Regions from separate parts of the Homo sapiens genome. Here region 2 is linked to region 1. Evidence: promoter capture Hi-C in 16 types of primary human blood cells and fetal thymus (Javierre and others, 2016). All regions are on one chromosome and are shown on one strand. Each heading gives the region's core, a stretch centred on a gene start or on the middle of the fragment in contact. The rest is flanking DNA. Distances are from core to core; before and after follow the strand shown. Region 1 holds the start of DEFB132 (defensin beta 132). Region 2 has its middle 6.8 kb from the start of SOX12.

Evidence for each region. Contacts are between HindIII fragments. The CHiCAGO score rates a contact against its expected background, and 5 or more counts as called.
Region 2: a fragment that was not itself captured here is called in contact with the fragment with the promoter of DEFB132 in region 1 in 6 of 17 cell types (naive CD8 T cells, total CD8 T cells, naive CD4 T cells and 3 more); the score reaches 6.7 in naive CD8 T cells.

The regions. Positions count from the first base shown.
Region 1 is chr20:256,082-259,034 of GRCh38, forward strand. It overlaps DEFB132 (defensin beta 132), which reads left to right and starts at 1,643. Exons shown (of 2, transcript NM_207469.3): 1 at 1,643-1,755. The coding sequence starts at 1,698. The HindIII fragment of the contact is 5,497 bases long and covers 1-2,757 here.
Region 2 is chr20:330,791-333,881 of GRCh38, forward strand. No RefSeq gene overlaps it. Among named protein-coding and RNA genes, the nearest start is that of SOX12, 6.8 kb to the left of the region's middle. RefSeq lists an enhancer at 1-129. The HindIII fragment of the contact is 2,358 bases long and covers 203-2,560 here.

The DNA of each region.
Region 1 (2,953 bases), core at 393-2,892:
AGAGGTGGGGCAAATGCTAAAGCAAGAAAGATAAAATGTCAACAATAGGCAAATCTCAGGGGAGCTGGGGAAAAGGTATCGTACAATTTGTATTTTGCAGCCGGTATGTTTTAAATTATTTTTAAATGAAAAGATTTTTTAATGGGTTGAGGAAATTGGAGTGACTTATATTTATGACATCCAATGGACTGTGCATGCTGTATGGAAACAAGGAGAAAATAAATGTCATCATTGCTTAACAAGTGAAGGGTAAAAAGACAATTAACTCACTGAAGACTACGCACAGAAACACAAAAGCCTTTGCTTCTGTGGTTATAGGTTTACCAAAGGCACAAAGGGATTTGTATTTATTTTAGGATTATAATTTACATCACTTAGTTGGAAAAATTACAGATTTTAAGATATTTTTACAAATCTGAGTGACTGTAAAGACTGCTAAAGTCTTGGGACATATTCTTACCAAGTCCCAGATCTTTTGTTTTGTTTTGTTTTGTGCCTGAAATCAAACCAGGTTTTTTAGACCAGGAAAACGTGAGAAGCTAGAGCTGCTCTACTCAGTTGGCCCAAACCAGGACTCCGGAGATTATTCCCTTATACAGCAGGCACCACATTAGAGAAAGGATTCTGGAAAAGTGAGCTGGAACAGAAAAGAACTGTCTCAATGGGAAACAGACTCCAAAGGACGCTATTGGGGGGAGGAAAACACAAAATATTTCTTGAGAAGAATGTGGAAATGGCAAAGTCTCTAGCCTCCAGAAACCTTAAACTCTAGGGAAAGAAAGCAAAAATTTAGAGGTAAGAGTGTTCATATTAAAATTCAAACAATAAGTAGTTTTTCTATAAACTCTCTTTTTTTCTAATCATGAAAGTACACATAATCATTCTCTCCAAACTCAGACATTTTAGACAGATAGATAGATAGATGACAGATAGATAGATAGATAGATAGATAGATAGATAGATAGATAGATACACATGCATACATACTACATACATATATACCTACATATGTTGGCACATAGATGTTCCTTTACCACAGATTAAGTTATTCTAGATGCATATCTTGTAGCCTACATTTTTATACATTTTCATCATTTTAATAACTGCATACTGCTCTATTATATTCTGTATTTTCTATATTAGATTAGATCCATGTTTTATCACCATTTAGGTAGCTTTTGGTTTTCTGTTACTGTAATGTTGAGATAAACGTCTTTATGTACTTGTTCAATTATTCCCATTAAACAAAAGCCCAAGGTACAAAGTTTCTGAGTAAAAAAATAGGCACATTTTAAGGCTTCTGATATATATTGCCAAATTGTGCTACAAAAGAAAAACTGTACCAATTAACACTCCCAGCAACAACGCCAAGAGAATGCTAGTTTCCCCACATCTCACCAACACTGTCTAGAACGCATAGTTTTAGAGATGAACGCTGGGAACCGACGCACTGTTTGCTCTACCTCTCCCCCTCCTAACAGTCTAGAACACAGGCGCTCAATAAATCAATCCAGGCTCCAGTCCAGTAGACATTCTGATCTAATCTGACTGCTCTGGGTAACAGAAAAGTCTCCCTTGGTTCACTGCCCAGTATCCTGGCATCATGTGGATCCTATAAAGGCAGTAGCTCCAAGCACATTACAGAGGGACCCAACTCCATTAAACCACCACCAGCTCCCCAAGCCACCCCTTCAGCCATGAAGTTCCTGCTCCTGGTCTTGGCAGCCCTCGGATTCCTGACCCAGGTGATCCCAGGTAAACTGGATAAATAGGAGGAAAGGAAAACTGGGAACGAGGAACACTAGCATATCTGGTTGCTCTGGTGATAGATGAGCCAGGTTGGGTGGAGGCAGGGCTCACCCCACTGAGTTCCAGTCTAAGGTAGAGATCTCCTAACAACCACCACTAGCCTTGATATCCCACACCCAAACACCACCCTATATAACCTTTACAAAAATTTGTTTTCTATTCTAAAATGATAGTCACCCTCAACCTAAACCAAAATATCTTCTTTCACTTTATGTGAGCTCCTTATATCTAACCTCCTAAGACACACTGAAGGCTTCTGTCATCACCATGTGCATCCATTGAGATCAGCCCGGGTTGGAGCTCAAAGGAGATTTTGAGCCTAGAAGGAAGAGATTGAGGTTCCCATCCCTATGCTCAACAGACAGCTGGCAGGTGGGGGATGGAAGCAGACCTCTTAGAGGGCTAGTTCCCACAGGATGGTAAGCAATGGGTTCAGCTCAAACCCTGGGGCTAGGAGATAATGCAGGGTCAGAAAGAGAGAGAGACAGACACACAGAGAGCAGGGAGAGAGAGAGATCAGAGGAGGGCCAGGCAACGGATGTGAAGAAAGCCAAAGAGGCTTGAGGGTGCTCCGAAGAGGCCCCTGCTGTGAGCCAATGGCAGACACAGAGCACTGAGGCAAACAGATTTCAGCAGATGGTGAAATGGTGCACAGCACTGGGTGAATGCAAAAATGCCCTGTCACTGGCAACCGTTATTTTCTTTTTAATGATTTTGGAGAAAGATTTGACTCCTCCCACTTTGCCCCAGGTTGACTCATATTTACAGTTTTAGAGTCTATGAAAACAAGTAAGGTAGAAACACCTTAAAAGGGAGCCTGTGGGGTGAGTGAGACTAGCCCCATTTCTCCCTTTTGAGTATCCAAGCTCCTCCCTGACCGTGAAGACCAGGCTCCCCACCCCTGTTTTTACCCATACATCCTATTCTGTAGTATCAAATTTAGCAAAAAGCTTCAAAGATGCAGATACTGGCAAAGAAGAAGAGCTCGTCAGACAGAGTTCCCCAAGGCCATCAATCCAGGAAGATTTTTGTCTCCTCATCACTGGCTTTCCCAAGTCTCATTTGCACAACATCCTAAGGATACACCTCAGAACAAAAAGCCAAACACTCCCATCTGGCGCTGACGCTTTAGTAGCCCTGTGCT
Region 2 (3,091 bases), core at 132-2,631, 74 kb after region 1:
GTGCAGTTGGGAGGTGGGAGTCGGGGTGTGTCCCAGGCCAAGGAACTGAGTCCCACTCGAGTCTCACTCCATTCATGCATTGACTCATTGCTGGGTCATGCCCCTTGCCTGGGTGGTGTGAGCCACCCTGCTTCCAAGGCTTTCAAAACACCATACGCTGATGTATTGTTTCTCATCTATTGCTGCGTAACAAATTGCCACAAGCTTAGCAGTGTAAAACAACATGCATTTGTTATTTCAGTCTCCATGCATCAGGAGTCCAGCATGCCTTAGCTGGGTCTCTGCTCAGGATCTCACAAGGCAGCAGCTGGGGTGCTGGTGGCCCGCATTCCTTCTTGGAGCTCAGCAGCCTTTTCCAAGCTCTCACGGTAGTGGGCAGAATTCAGTTCTTTGTGCTTATAGGACAGAGATCCCTGTTCTATTGCTGGCTGTCAGTTAGTACCACTCTTGATTACTACAAGCTGCTCAGTTTCTTGCCACATGGCCCCCACAGGGCCTCCCCAGCCTTCTCACAATATTGCAACTTATTTTGTCAAGGCCAGAGGAGAATTTTTCTGCTGCTTGGAGTCACTTGGCTCAGGGAAGGTTTAAGCTCTCTTTTAAAAGCCTCTCCTGGCTGGGCATGGTGTGTTCATGCCTGTAATCCCAGCACTTTGGGAGGCCAAGGTGGGTGGATCACCTGAGGTCAGCAGTTCGAGACCAGCCTGGCCAAATGGTGAAACCCCTTCTCTACTAAAAATACAAAAATTAGCCTGGCGTGGTGGCAGTCGCCTGTAATCCCAGCTACTTGGGAGGCTGAGGCAGGAGAATCACTCGAACCTGGGAGGCGGAGGTTGCAGTGAGCCAAGACCAAGCCACTGCACTTCAGCCTGGGCGACAGAGCAAGACTCTGTCTCAAAAAAAAAAAAAGAAAAAAAAGGAAAAAGAGAGAGAGAAAAAAAAAGCCTTCCCTAATTAGGTCAGACTCACCCAGGAAAATCTCCTTTTTGATTAGGCATCAACTAATGTGGGATTTTATATCTGCAAAAAATCCCTTCACCTTTGCAGTATATTGTAGCCTTATAAGAGTGACAGCTGTCATACTAGATTTGCCCACACTCAAAAGGGAGGAGGCTGTCTAGGGCAGCTACACCAGAGACTGGGAATCTTGGGGGCCATCTTAGAATTCTGCTTATCACACACCTGTAATCCCAGCACTTCGGGAGGCCAAGGTGGGAGGATTTCTTGAGTCCAGGAGTTCAAGACCAACCTGGCCAACATAGCAAGACCTAATCTCTAGTAAAGTTTTTTTTAAAAAAATTAGCCAGGCACGGTGGTACACACCTGTAGTCTCAGCTACTTGGGAAGCTGAAGTATCATAGCTGAGAATTCTCAGGTCTACATCTCCATCCCAGACATGACTAGACTAGCTGCCTTCTTGTCATCTCCACTGATATATCTAATTGGCACCTCAAACTGGACATGCCAAAAAATGAACTGTTTCCACAGTGCTCCCAAGCCTGCTTCCACAGACCACATCTGCACAGCTGATGTGAAATGAAAGGCTAAAGCCTCTCAGTTATCCTTGATGCCTCTTTTCCTCCCAGCGCCATCTCCCTTATACCCTGTTGGCTCTACCTTCAAAATATGCCCTGTGTCTTGTCACTTCTCACATCTTCCATGGCCTCTGGGTCCAGGATATAAGGGCATACGAAGGGCTCCTTGCGTTTTCCTTTGCCCCACTCATAGTCTTATTGTCCACACAGCAGCCGGAGTGATCTGGTTAAACTGTAAATCCCAGCACACCCTGCCACTGTTCAAAATTCTCCAAAGACTCTCATTCAGTAGAAGCCAGAGTCCTCAGCATGGCCTGCAAAGCCCCATAAGAAGTAGCCTGTGGCTCAGCCTCGGCTTCATCTTCTACTTTTTCTGTTTCTCACATGCCCAGTCACACTGGTCTTGCTGTTCCTCAAAAGTGCCAATCACACTTCCGCCTGAAGGCTTTTGCACATGCTTTTCCCTCTGCTTAAGATACCCTTCCTCCGGCTGGGCGAGGTGGCTCACGCTTCTAATCCTAGCACTTTGGGAGGTCCAGGTGGGTGGATCACCTGAAGTCAGGAGTTCGAGACCAGCCTGGCCAACATGGCGAAACCCCTTCTCTACTAAAAATACAAAATTAGCTGGGCGTGGTGACACATGCCTGCAGTCCCAGTTACTCAGGAGGCTGAGACAGGAGAATCACTTGAATCCAGGAAGCAGAGGCTGCAGTGAGCTGAGATCGCATCACTGCACTCCAGCCTGGGCAAGACAAAGCGAGACTTCACCTCAAAAAACAAACAAAAAAATACCCTTCCTCCAGATAGCCACATGTCTTACTTCCTTCAGGTCTCAGCTCCCAGGGCGCCCTAGAGTAGGCACAGGGAGTACCTCACAGTGTCCTCCCTGACCATCCATATAAAGTAACATCCTCCATAAACTATCCTGTTACTTTGCTTTATTTTTCTGAATAGCATTTATCACTATCTGGCATTTATCACCTGTAGTTTTTACTTTTTGTCTCTCTCTCTCTAATTTGTATGTAAGCTTCATAAGGAAGGAATGACTCTGGACTGGACTCCATGCCTCAGCACATTCACCCACCCATTCAACAAACATTCTTAAGGGTCTAGGCTGGGCATGGTGGCTCATGCCTGTAATCCCAGCACTATGGGAGGCCGAGGTGGGAGGATCACTTGAAGCCAGGAGTTTGAGACCAGCCTGGGCAAGGAAACAAGACCCTGCCTCTAAAAAATACAATTTAAAAAAGTATCCAGGCACAGTGGCGTGAGCCTATAGTCCCAGCTACTCGGGAGGCTGAGCTGGGAAGATCTCTTGTGCCCAGGAGTTCAAGGCTGCAGTGAGCCATGGTCATGCCACTACACTCCAGCCTGGGTGACAGAGTTAGACCCTGCCTGTAAAAAAAAAAAGGTGGGGGGCAGGGTGGGGAAGGTTTGCCTTGACCAGGCCGCGTGCTAGGTGCCGGGCATACAAAAGTGAAAAACGTGATTTGTCCTCAGTGAGCTCACAGGTCTGAGGAGACACATAAACCCAGGAATGGAAATGCTTTGCTGGC